Regions from separate parts of the Homo sapiens genome. Here regions 1, 2, 3 and 4 are each linked to region 5. The links are contacts of gene promoters, found by promoter capture Hi-C in blood cells and fetal thymus (Javierre and others, 2016). All regions are on one chromosome and are shown on one strand. Each heading gives the region's core, a stretch centred on a gene start or on the middle of the fragment in contact. The rest is flanking DNA. Distances are from core to core; before and after follow the strand shown. Region 1 has its middle 92 kb from the start of TBL1XR1-AS1. Region 2 has its middle 38 kb from the start of LINC01209. Region 3 overlaps LOC105374235 (a long non-coding RNA gene). Region 4 has its middle 110 kb from the start of TBL1XR1-AS1. Region 5 holds the start of NLGN1 (neuroligin 1).

Region 1 (3,215 bases), core at 82-2,581, 3.5 Mb after region 5:
GGCAGATATAAGAAAAAGTCGGAAAATAGGGCAGCAGCTGTGATAATTGGCAAGCCACATGTAGAGGAATGAAACTGGATCCTCATCTCTCACCTCATACAAAAGTCAACTCAAGATGGGTCAAAGACTTAAATCTAAGACCTAAGACTATAGACATCCTAGAAGATAACATTGGAAAAAAATCTTCTGGACATTGGCTTAGGCAAAGACTTCATGAGCAAGAACCCAAAAGCAAACACAAAAAAACAAAGATAAATAGATGGAACTTAATTAAACTAAAAAGTTTTTGCACAGCAAAAGAAATAAACAGCAGAGTAAACAGACAACTCACGGAGTGGGAGAAAATATTTGCAAACCATCTATCTGACAAAAAACTAATATCCAAAATCTACAAGGAACTCAAACAAATAAACAAGAAAAATAAAACAAATAATCCCATCAAAAAATGGGCTAAGGACATGAATAGACAATTCTTCAAAGAATATATACAAATGGACAACAAACTTATGAAAAAATGCACAACATTACTGATTATCAGGGAAATGCAAATCAAAACCACAATATGATACCGTAACCTTACTCCTACAAAAATGGCCATAATCAAAAAATAATAGACATTGGCATGGATGTGGTGAAAAGGGAGCACTTGGACACTGCTGGTAGTGATGTAAACTTGTACAACCACTATGGAAAACAGTATGGAGATTCCTTAAAGAACTAAAAGTAGAACTACAATTTGATCCAGCAACCCCACTGCTGGGTATCTACCCAGAGGAAAAGAAGTCATTGTATGAAAAAGACACTTGCACACGCATGTTTATAGCAGCACAATTCACAATTGCAAAAATATGGAAGCAGCCTAAATGCCCATCAATCAATGAGTGGATAAAGAAAATGTGGTATATATATGCCATGGAATACTACCCAACCATAAAAAGGAATGAAACAATGGCATTCACAGCAACCTGGATGGAGTTGGAGACCATTGTGCTAAGTAACTCAGAAATGGAAAGCCAAACATTGTATGTCCTCACTTATAAGTGGGAGCTAAGCTATAAGCATGCAAAGGCATAAGAATGATATAATGGACTCTCAGCTGGTGTGGTGGCTCATGCCTGTAATCCCAGCACTTTGGGAGGCTTAGTGGGGAGGATCACTTGAGGCCAGGAGTTTGAGACCAGCCTGGAAAACATTGTGAAACCCTGTCTACTAAAAATACAAAAAGTAGCCAGACATGGTGATGAACACCTGTAATCCCAGCTACTTGGGAGGCTGAGGCATGAAAATCTCTTGAACCTGGGAGGTGAAGGCAGCAGATTGCACCACTGCCCTCCAGCCTGGGTGTGACAGAATGAGACTCTGTCTCAAAACAAAAAACAAACCAACAAAAAGAATAATATAATGTTCCCCCCCAAAATTATTGAAATAATAAAATAAAATAAAAGACTTCCCAGAGCTTTAAAAAAAAGAAACAGCTGGGCTGGGTGGTTCACGCCTGTAATCCCAACACTGGGAGGCAGAGGGTAGGGGATCACCTGAGATCAAGACTTCGAGACCAGCCTGGTCAACATGACGAAACCCCGTCTCTACTAAAAATACAAAAATTAGTTGGATGTGATGGCACACGCCTGTACTCCCAGCTGTTAGGGAAGCTGAGGCAGGAGAATTGCTTGAACCTGGGAGGTGGAGGCTGCAGTGAGCCGAGATCACTCCACTGCATTCCAGCCCAGGTGACAGAGCGAGACTCCATCTCAAAAGAAAAGAAAAGAAAGAAAGAAACAGCACAGTTGCTAAGCAACCATAAAGTGGAACAGAGGCGTATTCCTGCAGTAAGGGTGAGGTTCTTCTATAGCTAGAAGAACATGTGTGGCTTAGAACAGGGATCCCCAAACCCCTGTACAGCAGGCCCAGGCCCTGTTAGGAACTGGCCTGTTAGGAACCGGGCCACACAGCAGGAGAGGAGCAGCAGGTGAGCCAGCCAGCCTTACCACCTGAGCTCCAACACCTGTCGGACCAGCAGTGGCATTAGATTCTCACAGGTGCGCGAACCCTACTGTGAACTGCACATGCGAGGGATTTTGGTTGCCCGCTCCTTATGAGAATCTAACTAATGCCTGATGATCTCAGGGGGAACAGTTTCATTCCAAAACCATCCCTTCCCCACAACCCACCCCCCATCCATGGAAAAAATTGTCTTCCATGAAGCCAGTCCCTGGTGCCCAAAAGTTTGGGGACTGCTGGTTTAAAAGATGAAACAGAATGAGGAAGGAGTGATTCAGGAATTGATTTAATTTGCTCATGGGACTGAGAAGACAAGATTGATTGGATGGTGGACAATGTTGATGGTGATGCTTGATGGTGTGATAGCTGCAAGTACCTGTTATTACCGAGCAAAAGGGGCTTGCTGCCTGATGCACTAGAAATGAATACTACGGTACTGGGTTTTTGAGAAAATAAAAGTTTTTATTGTAGGTCAACCAACAAGGAGACAAGAGTGCAGTTCAAATCTGTCTCTCCTTGCTGGCTCTAAGGCAGTCATTTCATTAGAAAAGTTTCAGGGGATGGGTTCTGAGATTACTAGGTGATGGTGGAAGGAAAGGAGAGGTCTAGAAAGTCCTCGGGCATGCACAGTTATCTCTTCATGCTACCTCGTGGAACACATGTGCAAATTCAGGGGGAATTAGTATGAAACATGGTGGAAATTCGGGCTGTGACGTCAGCAAGCTCATTCTGTACAGACTCGGGCTGGCCATATGGCTTCCAACTGATTTCAGCCAGTTTTTTTAAATCTCACAAGTAAAGGGAGTTTCAGCAGCGTTCCCTTAACGGCAATTCAACACGTGACCTACCAAGTGCCAGCACTTTAGCGGCAATATTTCATATAATCTTCACAGTAACTCTAGGAAACAGGTGTTATAATCTACACGTTACCCTCAACTCACTTTGCCCAAGGTAAATAATAATAATTAGTAGTAGTAGTAGTAGTAATGGTACTACTAGTAGTAAATCTGTGACTAAAACACAGTTCCCTGCAACTTCAAAAACCACACATACCTTTGTTCACCACACTACTCTGCATCTTTGAAATGTAGTGGCTTTTCAAAACATCCCAGTGAGCCTGAAAGTCAGGCTACACATCCGTTTATCCATGAGGGCCTACTTAGCAAAACAAAATGTTTATGGCAAGGCTACACCTTTTTTCATGCAAACGACAA
Region 2 (3,599 bases), core at 932-3,431, 3.5 Mb after region 5:
GAGCAAAATTTCTGAATACAAAAAAGAGACCAAATATCCATCCTTATTAAATTTCAGCATAATGAATTCAATTCATTCTCCAGCTAGTAAAGATTTTTTGTTAATTATTTTATTATTCACAACTTGAATGGGCAGACTTCCTATATTTTCTTTCAAGTCATTGGCAAAAATATCAAAAAACTACAAGGCTAAAAAAACTTCCTTTCAATTGAACAGGAATCCATGTTTTCAATCAAATATTGGAGTCAAACCTGTATGTCTCCATCTTTTCACAAATTAGGGAGACCTTATCAAATTCCTTGATTAAGTTTAGATACATAATATCATTTTGCCTGCATTTCCTTAATAAGTCCAGAAATCCTACCCAAGATAGAAATGAGGTAACTATAGTATGAATGTATGTCAATCCTTTCCATGTTTCAATCATCATTTTCCACTTTTGGTAAATCACAAATCTGTTTAATAAGTCACTTTTGCTGGTATTGTGGTTATGTATGAAAATATTCTTTTTATTTTTTATATGAATACTGACATATGTAGGGGTAAAATTACATAACTGAGATTGTGTTAAAATTACTAACAAAAAGGGGAGGAGAGTTTCCCATTGATGAACAATAATTATGGCTAAGTATTGACAGAATTGGGCATTTTGTTTGCAGACATCACCCTTCTCTTACAAAATTTTTTGATAATTGCTTGACTTTTGTCCCCCACATCTTGCCCAGTCTCCACAATTTCTCTGCAATAACAAATAGCCATTCAATTAATTCATTTGAAATTTCTGAGTAACCTAAGATGTCATTCATAAGATTTGAAATCTGAACTGCTAATGCTCCCTCATCTTTTTTGTTTTGAGTTTGCATCCTTCATTTCAATGTTTGCCCCACTCTTTTTAATATGAAGATCAATTTTAACAAAGATGATACAAGGAAATTTACAGGGTCACTTACAAAACTGTATCTTCTTCCCGGCTGTTGTTACTCTGCCTCTTCCTCGATCTGTTTCTTGTTCTGAATATAATGAAGAAATCCCATTTTATTGTCAGTGGCACTTTTCACAAACTTGAGTACCCTTCAACTTTATGGACATTATTCTTACACATGTGGACCACTCTAGGATTTTTTATCATTAATTTGTACTTTTTAAATCACATATCTCTCAAAACTCTGAGTTCACAATTCCCACTAATTTTTATTTTTTAAGAGACAGGTTCTTGCTATGTTGCTTAAGCTGGCCTCAGGGGATGGATACTCCCACATCAGCCTCCTGAGTAGCTGGGTGTGCACCACTGTGCCAGCAAAATTTCCCCCTAATTTTTATGAGATAAATGGTTTACAGTATACAGAATCAAAATGGCATTTCGAACAACTTCCCAAAGCTGTTGACATCTTCCCTTTAATGTAGAATGCCATGAAATCATGCCTATGTTTTCCTTGATATTTTCTACACTGACCCTCTTGAAGTCTGTAGCACATGGTCAACCATAGCAGGCTTCCCCTCAATGAATATGATGAATTCTAAAATATTATAGTGACTTTCCCCAAAGCTTCTGTTCCTCTCACTTTGCCAATAAATGTATCCTATATTTCGGAGTCAGACCAAAAGGAACTGTTTCCCTAATGGCCTATCTTTCAGGAGATTGTTAACAGCTTATCAAAGAATGTCATGAGCTTACACACACTCAAATTTTTTGCAGGTTGAGATTCTAGGAGATGTCTTAATTGAAATCCCTCAATCATGACTTTGGCCTGGCATAGGGTCATCTTTCAGATCTCTGTCAAAAGTATATCATCTCTTTCTTCCTTCTGGCCAGAAAGCTTGGAGAACACTCTCCCAACAATTTCAGATTTCTATTTCTATTTTCCTCAGCTATAATCTCACATCATGAGTTTCTACACTAGTTTATGGCCCCTTGATACATAAATATAACTATTTCTCTAATTGATTTTCAAAAATGTCTGCCCTCTTTAAAGAGATTCCATCACCATCTTTTAATTTTGAATCACATCTCAATTAATCTCAATGATAACTGTGAATGTATACAAACCTCTTGCCATAAATTAAAATCGCTCAATATCTTGTTAATTTCTAATGTTCTACAGTGGTATATGTGTTGGAGGCTATAATTTTGGCTTTTGGTACCATTACTGATTTTCCATGTAAATCATAAGCATCTCCTACATTCCCTCCTACTATTTGCATTCTGCAAAATCATGCTCTACATCAGTGTATTTCATTACTTATCTTCTTCCCCTGTATATTCAGTTTAAATTTCACTCAAATAATTTTGAACTGTGTTCCTACCCTAGCCAAAATCCTATCATTCTGGGGTCTTAAGTTATAGCTCAAAAATCTAAATTCTATTTCAAATGCAACATCCACTGAACATCAACATTTTCCTCGTTCATGTATTTTTTCAACAGACATCTGTTGAGAAAACACTTTGTACAATGTGGTCTGGTAAGGATTAGAATAGTAAAAAGAGACAATTTCCCCACCCTCTAATGGGTGGATTCAAGTAAGCAAATGTAATTTTAATATGTATCTAAGCTTTCATCCTAAGGCAATAAGTTTACCCAAGTTATTCCGTTTCTTATAAGACTTCTATACCATTGTTACCACGAATCTTCTCTGATAAACACAGTCAACCTCTCATGAATCAACAAAATGAGATAATGATCAGTGTGATTTGATAGATTTGTGACAACTCGGTCAGTTCTCACATACCTGTTCTAGGAAAACAGAACACCATCCAATTTACTATACTAAATCTACCTAAAACTAACTCCGTACAGCTAACTCTGTAGCCTGAAAAAGAAGATACAAAACAACATTAAGCATCTCCTTCCTTGACCTTGTAACAGGCTTATCTATATAAACTAGGACTTAGTAATTGTGCCACTTGATCTGTGGAATATGAGCTGCTACCATTTCTTCATAAGATCCAAATTCCCCTTTTCTGGGAAGGGTCCCATACACATAGTATAACTCAAGCTAAAGTAATATTCCCTGCTTTCTCCAGTGTCAGAATCTTCCACTTGCTAGTAGTATTTATCTTTCACTCTTTATTAAAACTTTCTTTTGTTCTCCCTTTAGTCTTTATTTCTTCCCTTCTGACTAGAAATCACTCATCATCTCTAACCGGTTAGAGTTTAGAAAGCCTTGAGCCTCTATGTGTCCTCCTTTGTAGGAACATCAACTTTTTAAGGGAAGGAAAAATTCTTATTCATCTTGATGCAGTCTCTTATCTAGATGATGTTGACACAGGCCTGAGGCCTGGCAGCTCATAGGTGACAGGTAAACATCTACTGAGGTGACCTAGGAAGAGAATTGACAGCTCACATAATTGGTCAGAGCCTCTGGCAGGAAGACAAACATCTTGCAGGCTCAGAAGTGTACACATTGTAGATTTTTATAGGAAATAAAGACCTTCATAGTTTCCCTTAGGAAATATTTCTTAAACTCCTGTAACTCACTGCCTACAGGCTTCTTTGAATACTGCCTTGAAGGAAGCCAAACATATGTCCCCTTTCCTCTATCTCTGCCATCTTCTCTTCAAAGCTTGGTACTTAATGACTTCAGTCCTCGTCAGTTCAAAC
Region 3 (3,108 bases), core at 430-2,929, 5.0 Mb after region 5:
CTGAAAAACAAAACTAACAGTAACAACAACAACAATAACAAAACCTTTCCTTTGGCCCCTTTAGCTGCCAACCCTCCTCCTTCTCAAGTGTCATAACTTCACTTGTCATCCACACTCAGAATATCATTTCTACCCACAGTTTTCAAGTTATCATAACATACATAACTGCCAAAAATCAATGGACTATTTTTTTTTCTCATCTTACTAGACTGCTGGACTTCCTTTGGTGCTGTTAATCTCCTTTTTCTGTAAAGTCTCTCTTTCCTAAGCTTCTAGTTTTCCTTTCTCCAGTCACCTCTTATCTTCCTCATGGGCTGTTTACTTCTCATCTTCCCACCCCAACTGGTTTACCCTTACCACTCTGTTTCTTTTACTATATGATAAGCCCTAAAGAAATAACCCAAACTCATGGCTATAATTAATACCTATATAATTATGACCCTATGATTTATCATTACCCCAGATATCTTAAAGTTCCATATAATAATGGCCATTATTTATTGATTGTTCATTATTACATGGGAACTCTGCTACGAACTTTAAACATGTGGTTTAATTCCTCAATGCCTTTTGAAGTAGAAATATGATGATTTTCATTTTATACAGGAGGAAACAAGGTCTTATACAGTTTAAATGAATTGCTCAAGGCCACACAAATAGTGGCATATCTGGGATTTGAATTCGGGCTGCTAGACTCCATGATTTTGATCACTATATTATATTGCTTCATATACAAGATTTATTTAAGTTGATTATTTTCAAGTATCTTAATTGCAAATTATGTTGAGCATAATTCATCAAGATCCAAACTGACTTTCATATATCAAACTGAGAAGCCTTTCCTAAAAATATGCTCTCTTCCTAGAAAACTGTATGTTTTACTCTTCTTTCTAAATTGCATATCTGTACATCTCTTCAGGAAGCTTCTCCTGGAAGAAGAAACTTCAGGATAAAAGAAAATATACGAAAGCACAAAATGTGTCTTCTTTGATCAATGGTTCAAGGATAAGACTTCAGTCTGATATTTTTGTTCTGTTTAGCTTTGTTTTACCCGGCTTTTGATTAATGCTTGAGTAGACTCTTTGCACCAGGAAATCGTGGATGACCAGTTTACTAATAGCTAGGTTTCTTTTCTCTAAGAGTCTAGATGAGACAGACAGAGGTGTAGCCAGATTATTAGACAAACAGATCAAACAATGAAATGTCTAAAGGCTGGAGGCAAAAAACAAAAACAAAAGCTAAAACAAACTAAAAAACAACTGAAAAACAGATGATGGCCAAGGACATGGGTATACAATCAGATTATTTGTGCTCTCTATCCATCTTGCAACTTGTCCTTGGGAAAATTATTTAAACAAACTAGCCTCATAGTTCTCATACATAAAATAAAAATAACTGAACTACCTGCCTCTTGGAGTTGTTGTGAATGGTACTAAGATATGCTATGGCTAGGACAGTGCCTTACACACAGTGAATATTCAGCCAAAGATGGTGAGGCTGTTATGGTCCATGCTTTCTTCATATCCTTCTGATTCACATGCTCTACTAGATGATCACGTGCCAAACAATTATGGCTACAGTCCATGGAACTAGAGTTCACACTAACAAGCATGTGGGTTGGGTGAAACACTTACTTCAGGATCTAGTTTAAAGACATCAGTATGTGTTTCTAACCCCACTGATATGGTTTGGATATTTGTCCCCCCAAACTTCATGTTGAAATGTGGTACCCAGTGTTGGAGGTGGGGCCCGTGGGAGGTGTTTTGGGGTCATGGAGGCAGATCTCTCATGGCTTGATGTTGTCCTCACAATAATGAGTGAGTTCTTGCAGGATCTGGTTGTTTAAAAGAGTGTAATACTTTCCTGTGTTCTCTCTCTTTCTCCTGCTCTCACCATGTGACATGCCTGTTCCTACTTGCCTTCCACAGTGAGTAAAAGCTCTCTGAGGCCTGCCTCAGAAGCCAAGCCGATGCTGGCTCCATGCTTTCACAGCCTGCAGAGGCTTGAGCCAATTAAAATGCTTTTCTTTATAATTTACCCAGTCTCAGGTATCCCTTTATTTCTTTATAGCAATGCAAGAATAGCCTAATACATACACCTTAAAAGACAAGACATGCTAGCGAGCCATAACTGCTTAATGAAAAGAACATCACCTAGAATTCCTATCCACTTAGCTGGGTGCTGCCATATCTACCAGTTTGTGTGGAATAGAGAGAAATTGGATTTAACTCTGTCTTGTGTCACTCTTATACCTGACTTCATCAAACTTTCTGAATACATAAATAGTAGGAAAATTGAAAGGTAAGCCCAGGGAAACCGATAAGTATTTCATATTTTTACATAGAATGTTTAAAACCCCAAGGAAATTGGATGAGACAGATTATACCTGGCTGTTTAGAATGTGTTATGAGTAAACTACATTATGGAAATTAATTAGAAGCTTAAGGGAGACGCATTACCAATTTCAGATTCTAATTTAGATGGATTGGGTGGTATGGTAATTTAAATTCACCTCATTTTGTATATTCAAAAGATTGCCACTTTGGGGCAGTTAAGGTAACTTTTCTGATTCCATAGACAGTGTGATATGAGCAGCACTCACCCCAAGCATTCCACGAGGCTATGATTTCCTCCCAGGGCATATTTATACTCTAATAAAATCCTAATTTGAGGATTTATCCGTTTACTGTACAATAGTGATGACAATGTGAGGTTGTGCAAATCCTGGTGCTGCATATTACAGAGAGCCAGCACCTATCTTCCCACAGTGCTTACACTGTATAGCCCCAGAACATCTTTCGTCATGAGATTCATTGTTACAGTGTGGACTCTCAGAAACTGCATACAAAATGAAAAAGAATGACATGAAAGGAGGAACAAATCCTCCTTTTGTGCCATTCTTTCCCATTTGGTACATATATTCTCCACAGGGGCCCTAATGCTGGCGACATTATAGCCCCTCTTCTAGATCTGACCATCATATAGCTGAACTATATGATGCTCCTGAGTACACATCACCAATACACAGACAGTTCTGTAAAAACAACAGACTAGGGGCCCTTGGCAGGACTGGCAAAAATGCTCTCAGCAACAAGGTTGGTATCTTGT
Region 4 (3,513 bases), core at 914-3,413, 3.5 Mb after region 5:
GGGTTTGTTGGTTCTACTCAGAGGTTTGGCCACATCCTGTGGGCAATAGAGAGTTTAAGCAGGAAAAAAAATCATAACTGGATTTGTTTTTTGAAGGTAACTCTGAAGGCAGGAAGACTAATTTAGAGACTTTGGCAACAGAACAGTAGAGAAAGGGTGAGAGTCGCGCCCACACACAGAAACACACACACAACACAAATCTTCCCACCTCATCCTACCCTTGCATTATTACTGACCTGCAAAAGACATTCACCTTTTGTTTTTATACTGAAGGTCTATTTCTGCCAGTTCCTTGCCCCACATAAATGAAATTTTGGATATAACCCTAAGCAAAGCCAGGGTACTACATGGCCCAATCAAATACATAAAATCAGAGTCCAGCAACCAAAAACAAAAAAAAAGAAAAACAAAAAAACTAAAATGGAACTCTACACTTTACTTGTACTCTTCTAACAGCGTTAAAAGGGAATCTAACTTATAAGAAAGGGCACCACTTCTCAATTCCGTTTCTTTCTCCTCCGCATTTCTCTCATAGCCTCTCTCTCTGGCTTCTCTGAAGCCCCTTTTAAAATACTCTGCACCACCCACCACAAACACAAACGAAACTCTTCACCATCTTAGCTTTACCTCATGCCCACTCTCTCCTCTGTTCTCTCCCAACATTTAATCAAATACATCTGTTTAGTTCCTGTAACTCAGGGAATTCCCCTTTCCTGTCACGCCCCACAGTTTCACCCTCTGCCCTTTTCATGTATCTGGATGACCAAAGAGCTGGGCACTGGCCTGACATGACCAAAGGCTCTTGGCAGGCATGGAGAATCTATGGGGGCAAAGAACATATTTTCTGTACAAACAGCTAAAGTTAAGGGGAGATAGCAAGAAGAATGCATGCTATCACACACCTAACTCCCTGACTAGACGGTCAGCATTTTGAAGGTAGGAACCATGTCTACTTTGTGTCTCTAGCAAAGTTTAAAACATTAAATGAATAGAGAAACGAATGCTTGCATCACTGTCTCTTAGAGAGCCACCTCCTTTTTAATGCTTCTCCTTTCTGCTTACTGACCTGTATCTCCTTATAAAATAAGTCATCCTTATGAGTGGAACAAGGGACCATGGAGACAACTGCCTGAAGCACTACCTATCATTCATCCTCTTTGCCAATTCCCAGAGCAATTAGAGGAGTGTAATTAAAAATGTCCAAAAAGTCTCTTAAATATTTCAAGCATCAGATATTCACTAATATTAGTAACAAATTTATTTAATCTCAAGCATCTTTCTGCATTTGATAGATTGTAAAGAGGAATTTATATGGAATGAGACAGGGTACTTCTTCTATTAAAATGAACATAAATAGCTCATGAAGGATGGTTCACTATAACAATTTGCATAACAAATGCACTTCATAAAAAAACTGTATAACAGGCACCCACTGTTCCAAACTCATGAATATTTTGAGTACTTAAGTAGAGCACAGAATGTAAATAGGAGGGGAAAAAATAAATATTTTTGCTAAAGCTTATCTGTAAACAGAAGTCTTAGATTGCATTTGGGTTTTCCTACCACTTATTTCTTTAGCATGTTGTGTCTTTAAATATATATATTTCACATGAAGTTTTAAAGCAGTTTATAAAATAAACTGATAGCCAACAAAGCATATTTAAACTGGTTATTTAGTATTCTAGTCCTAACGCAGGAGAATGGCATGAACCCAAGAGGCGGAACTTGCAGTAAGCCAAGATTGCATCACTGCACTCCAGCCTGGGCAACAGAGTGAGACTATGTCTCAAAAAAAAAAAAAAAGAAAAAATATTCTAGTCCTAATGGGTTAAGTGTTTCAGGTGGAATACTCTGATCATACACGTAAATTTCATCCCTGCCATAAGATCTGGCAATGCTTAGCTGACATATTCTTGCAAATTACTGGAAATACCACATTCCCAGCTATGAAATTAAGTAGTATAAGCCAAAGATTCCAATAGCTACATTAAACAAACACACCTCCAGCAAATTTCTCTGCCCCAACTCAAGCAAATAGAATACTATCTTGTCTAAACAGCAACTTGCAGTTTTCCATGTTCAATATTGGAAAATAATCCAACTCTCTGGTGGTGTTTTACTACATTTTCAAGACCTTCTTTCCTGTCTTCAAGGGGGAAGGGAACCAGGGACACAAGATCAAGGGAAGTCCTTCCCAGGCTAGACACTGGTCCAATAACTAAAGAGTAATTGCTCAGATTCAAGTAAATCTGATATAATTCACAGTAGCTAGCTATGGTTTTTACTCAAAATATAGAACCCAAAAAGATTTCTTTAAGAAAAACTTATTGTGTTTCATTGCTAAATTATAAACTGCATTGACTATACTAGTAAATAGAATCCTTCAGTTAAATAAAGCAAACAAATGTGATTTTAGTTTTGACCACTATTCTCTCTCAAACAGAAAATAAATCCTTTCCAAGCAGTGATATCTAGGCCATTATCTCTACTTTGCTTTTAGCTGTTTTTCGTACATCACTGAAAATTTGGGGGCTTCCCTCTGAATTTACTCCCTGTCTGGGCTTTGCTGCCCTAGTTGCAAATCCTTACCAGCTGCCATCTTTCCTCCTCTCCATACTGCAGATGTTGCTTGTTACATTTGTAGCTTTCATCAAGTATATCCTTGACCGCTGCCACTGTTCTGCTCTGCTCTATTATTTGGAGCTTAATTCCCATCAAGCCACGCTCACTTGCACCGTATTTACTTTCCCTATGCAATATGTATCTACCCAAAGACTGAACACCATTCCTCTCCAGACACCCAGCAGGGGAAGCTTCAGTATGTTTAGATAAGAGGGTCTTAAAGGTGGTAGTCTGCTTTGAACTTGAAGCTATCATTGCAGCAGATATCACATACCAAAGAATAGGGAGCTGATGGATATTATAAGGGCTGCCCTACAATCCTACAACCTCCCTGTTGAAATCTCCAATGAATCTAATCCACCAGCAGATTACACACTAGCCACCTGCCCATTAGAAGGCTGAAGCCATCATTCATAGTTGTATTATCCTCCCTCTCATAGTGATAGAAGGGGCTATTAATTAACTTCAGAGAATCTGGATCTCTGGAGAAAGAGAGTTGGTCAGGACCCAGGAGGGGTGATACCAAGAAGAGTCAGCTCAGCCAGGCACGGTGGCTCACACCTGTAATCCCAGCACTTTGGGAGGCCAAGACAGGCAGATCACCTGAGGCCAGGAGTTCGAGACTAGCCTGGCCAACAGAGCAAAACCCCATCTCCACTAAAAATAAAAAAATTAGCCGGCCATGGTGGTGCACGCCTGTAATCCCAGCTACTTGGGAGGCTGCAGCATGAGAATTGCTTGAACCCAGGAGGCGGAGGTTGCAGTGAGCCAAAATCATGCCACTGCACTCCAGACTGGGCGATAGAGTGAGACCTTGTCTCACACACACACAAAAAAAGAATCAGCTCCAGGAGACAGAGGTTTCTAGATTGAAGGAATCCCCAATGTAGC
Region 5 (3,296 bases), core at 704-3,203:
CCGAAGCCCACCCCCACCAAGATCGCGCCTCCGACCGGCGGGAGGGGCGCGCAGGGGAGGGGACGCTGTGCAATAAACCGGGCGGGGAGAGGGAGGCAGCGGAGGGAGTCCTGGCTCTGAGGGGGGCAGGATTGGGTCTGGAGGATGGTCTGGCTTGATTCAGACTCCTGCACCCGACAACGCCACGGAGTGAGGGGAGAGGGAGAGAGAGAAGGTGGCAGTGTGTGTGCGCGCGTGTACGTGTGTGTGTGCGTGTCTACAGGTAGCAGTGGCGGCGGCGGCGGCGGCGGCGGGGACCGGAGCAGGGGACGCATCTGCAGCCACCTCCCCGCCTATGATTTTCGGAGGCGATTGCTCACTTAGCTGAGGATCTGTAGCCCCGGGAGATCTTCTCATCCTCTCCATTTCCAAGCTTCATAGGTGTCTTCCAGTTTCAAGTGTGTGTTTTGGGTATTTTATTTTTAATTTTTTTCCTTCTCCCTCTAAATCTTCTCGGAAATTCTGCATATTGAAGCAGGTGGCTCCTGGTACGAAATCTCTGGATACATTTGGCTTGCCAAGTTTTGCTCTTCGCTGTCCCCTCCCGTTTACAGAAGCATCTGTGGTGCTTTTCATTTTGGATTTACATGCAGGAAACGTATATATGTTTATATACCGACCGCATAATATATAAATACATATACGCGTGCCCAAGGGCCTGGTTTTCGTCTCTCCTCCCCACGAAACGGAATGTTTTGGAGCCGATGGATAACAAGAACACTATTAACATTCTTTTGAGCCTGTTTTTTAAAAGGGGGAGGGAGCGTGAAGAATTGTTTAACATTTGGCCATCGTTTGGCTGCACACTAAGCACCACGAAGTATTTATGGTTGCAGATCAGGTGCAAACGGGGCTTAGAGAGAAAGGTAAGGGAGCTTCCTGCGTCCGCCGAGCTCCGGCGTTTACCTTAATCCCGGGGATTGCCGAGAACTTCCTATTCCCTGCCTCTCCTTCGCCTTCCCCACCTTCCACCCACCCTTCTCTGCTCTCTCTCTTCTGTAAACTCAACCCTTTTCCAATCCCATTGGGGTGGGGGTGGGGGGTGCTGGAGGTATAATCGTCTATTTGAGTTTAAATGCGTCTCTCTTTCCCAGGCTAGTAGCTGAGTTTTCCAATAGCCTTTCTGGCGGTTTTAGGAAATCGTGTCCTTTATAAAAAATAATGCTACCTAAATAAGTGTTTTAAACATCTGAAGATGCCAGTCCCTCACCCTATCCTCTGATGAAAATAAAAGCAATAAAAAATAATGAACTTTAATAAACTGGGTGGTTTTTTTTAAGCGTTGGGGTTCATGGAAGCTCCCAAACGCTTTTTTTCATTTAAAAAGAAAGATAACCAGCAAACAAACCAATCTCAGGAGGAGTCCACAGTGGAGGAGATTCGCCTTCCGTTTCTGCATAAAACCAATACATTTTACTTGGAGGGTAATTTGCCAGAGTTGAGCGAGACGAAGCCGTGTCTAAATAAGTACATGACACTAAATTTCCTTTTAAATCCACCTTTTACACCATGGCCAGTCGCTTGTTTAACTCCCGTTCAAGGGACACGGTTTTCAAACGTGACCTTTTGGGGAGATGTGGGAACTTCCCCTCATTTCTTCTTCTGTGCCGCTAACCTCTTTCCTCCTCCGCGCGGCATCTCCAGCCCCGGCAGTTTGTAAATTGCCCGTTTTGCCCACCCTCCTGGTGGGCGTTCTCTCCCCCACTCCACTCCTGCCCCCTCTGTCCTTTCTTCATTGGCGTCTTCGGAGCAGATGCATCTTCTTTCTTCTTGGCCTCACTCTCCCGTTCCCCCGTCAGTCCCCCCACCCGCGGCTCCCCACTTGCCCCAGCTCTCCTCGCCGCTCCTCCCCGCCTCCCCGCGGAGGGTTGACCCTTCAATTCGGAGTCCCGGCCTGTGGGCGGGCGGGGGAGCGCCGCGGCTGTAAGCCGAGGATCAGGCGGCGGCGCGGAGAGCGCGCCCGGGCGGCCAGCGCCGAGCGCGCGGAGCTGGCGTGGGGAGACACGGCAGGAAAGGCGAGTCGGAGTGGGTGATGAGAGGCCGGGAGAGCCCGTCCGAGCCGGAGAGACCGGAGAGAAGGGAGCGAGCGACTGTGCGGCGCTCACGCTGCCAGAGCCCGGGCGGAGTGCAGTCGCCTCCAAAGCCTTAGAGCGGCGCCCCAGTCACTGCAGCTCTTCACCCTAGAGCTGTGCCCTGGGACCACAGAGACCAAGAGCATGGAAATCGGCTGAGAGGTACAAAAGAAATAAGGAACAGATTACGAGAAAGCGGGGAGGGTTTCCTGGCGAAATACGGAGGCTGAGCAGATGGAGGAACAATGCCGCCTCCAGAAGAAAACCCTTGCCTGAACCCTCGGCGGAGCGCAGAGGAGCTGCTTTCAGCCTTCTGCTCTCCCCAGGCCCTCCGGCTAGTTCTGGGGTTGGTTCCGCCGGTTAGTTTGACAGGGATAAGAAAGTTGCTCTTCTTCCCCACAACGTTTCCTGAGAGGTGGTTTTCAGATCTGTGTGTTTCCAGTCAAGATGTCACTCCCTAGATCCCCCGCGTTGAGCAACTAATATATTATGCATTATTGGGCAATAAACTCTCCTGGGAAGAGAAGGTATTCCAAACATTTAAACCGTTCTCCACCGACTCCTGCCCGCCTCAACACAATGCCTTGTGAGTAGAAATGAAAAACCACCTGAATTTAAAATTATTTAGGTTGAGATTTTGCATTGGGAATAATTTCTTCCAGAGGAGGTTGTTAGTGTGTTATAGAGATGAGGGATATTACATGTCCAATATTTGATTCATTTGTGATAATTCTAAATCATGAACAGTTGGCCTCCACAAAGGTACTATTTCTTTTTGCATTTCCAGGGCCATAGTGATACATATAACACTTGGGAAACGTGAATTCGTATAGTTAACCCAGTATCTGTTACTCTGCATTTTTACAGGTAGTTAATATACTCATTTTCCCTCTTTTTATACTCAAACTCCGGTAGACTATTTTTGCTTAAGTCAATTGAGTTGTCATGCTGTACATGAAAATTACAGGGTCTTAATGCATTTCTCACCATTAATTGTGCTCAATTATTAATAGGATCATAGATATTAAAATGTCACTGAGAAAGGGTATGTGTACCTATGTTTGAGTGTAAAACCTATAAAATGTCTCAGCATTTCTATCAGCCATTGTAACCTAGCAGAACACAAGGTTTTTGAAATGAGCTCAGAAGCAAGGGCCATTCATATATTTAAAATATTAAATGTTA

Evidence for each region. Contacts are between HindIII fragments. The CHiCAGO score rates a contact against its expected background, and 5 or more counts as called.
Region 1: a contact is called between a fragment that was not itself captured here and the fragment with the promoter of NLGN1 in region 5, in 2 of 17 cell types (M0 macrophages and M1 macrophages). The highest score is 9.3, in M0 macrophages.
Region 2: a fragment that was not itself captured here is called in contact with the fragment with the promoter of NLGN1 in region 5 in 1 of 17 cell types (M0 macrophages); the score reaches 6.0 in M0 macrophages.
Region 3: a contact is called between a fragment that was not itself captured here and the fragment with the promoter of NLGN1 in region 5, in 1 of 17 cell types (M0 macrophages). The highest score is 7.8, in M0 macrophages.
Region 4: a contact is called between a fragment that was not itself captured here and the fragment with the promoter of NLGN1 in region 5, in 3 of 17 cell types (M0 macrophages, M2 macrophages and M1 macrophages). The highest score is 15.9, in M0 macrophages.

Annotation. Positions count from the first base shown.
Region 1 is chr3:176,943,690-176,946,904 of GRCh38, forward strand. No RefSeq gene overlaps it. Among named protein-coding and RNA genes, the nearest start is that of TBL1XR1-AS1, 92 kb to the right of the region's middle. The HindIII fragment of the contact is 6,479 bases long and covers 1-3,215 here.
Region 2 is chr3:176,852,759-176,856,357 of GRCh38, forward strand. No RefSeq gene overlaps it. Among named protein-coding and RNA genes, the nearest start is that of LINC01209, 38 kb to the left of the region's middle. The HindIII fragment of the contact is 733 bases long and covers 1,816-2,548 here.
Region 3 is chr3:178,372,535-178,375,642 of GRCh38, forward strand. The region is part of intron 1 of LOC105374235 (a long non-coding RNA gene); the gene reads right to left. Among named protein-coding and RNA genes, the nearest start is that of LINC01014, 45 kb to the right of the region's middle. The HindIII fragment of the contact is 1,517 bases long and covers 922-2,438 here.
Region 4 is chr3:176,926,727-176,930,239 of GRCh38, forward strand. No RefSeq gene overlaps it. Among named protein-coding and RNA genes, the nearest start is that of TBL1XR1-AS1, 110 kb to the right of the region's middle. The HindIII fragment of the contact is 1,295 bases long and covers 1,517-2,811 here.
Region 5 is chr3:173,395,791-173,399,086 of GRCh38, forward strand. NLGN1 (neuroligin 1) reads left to right here and starts at 1,954. Exons shown (of 7, transcript NM_001365925.2): 1 at 1,954-2,273. RefSeq lists an enhancer at 223-722. The HindIII fragment of the contact is 3,156 bases long and covers 411-3,296 here.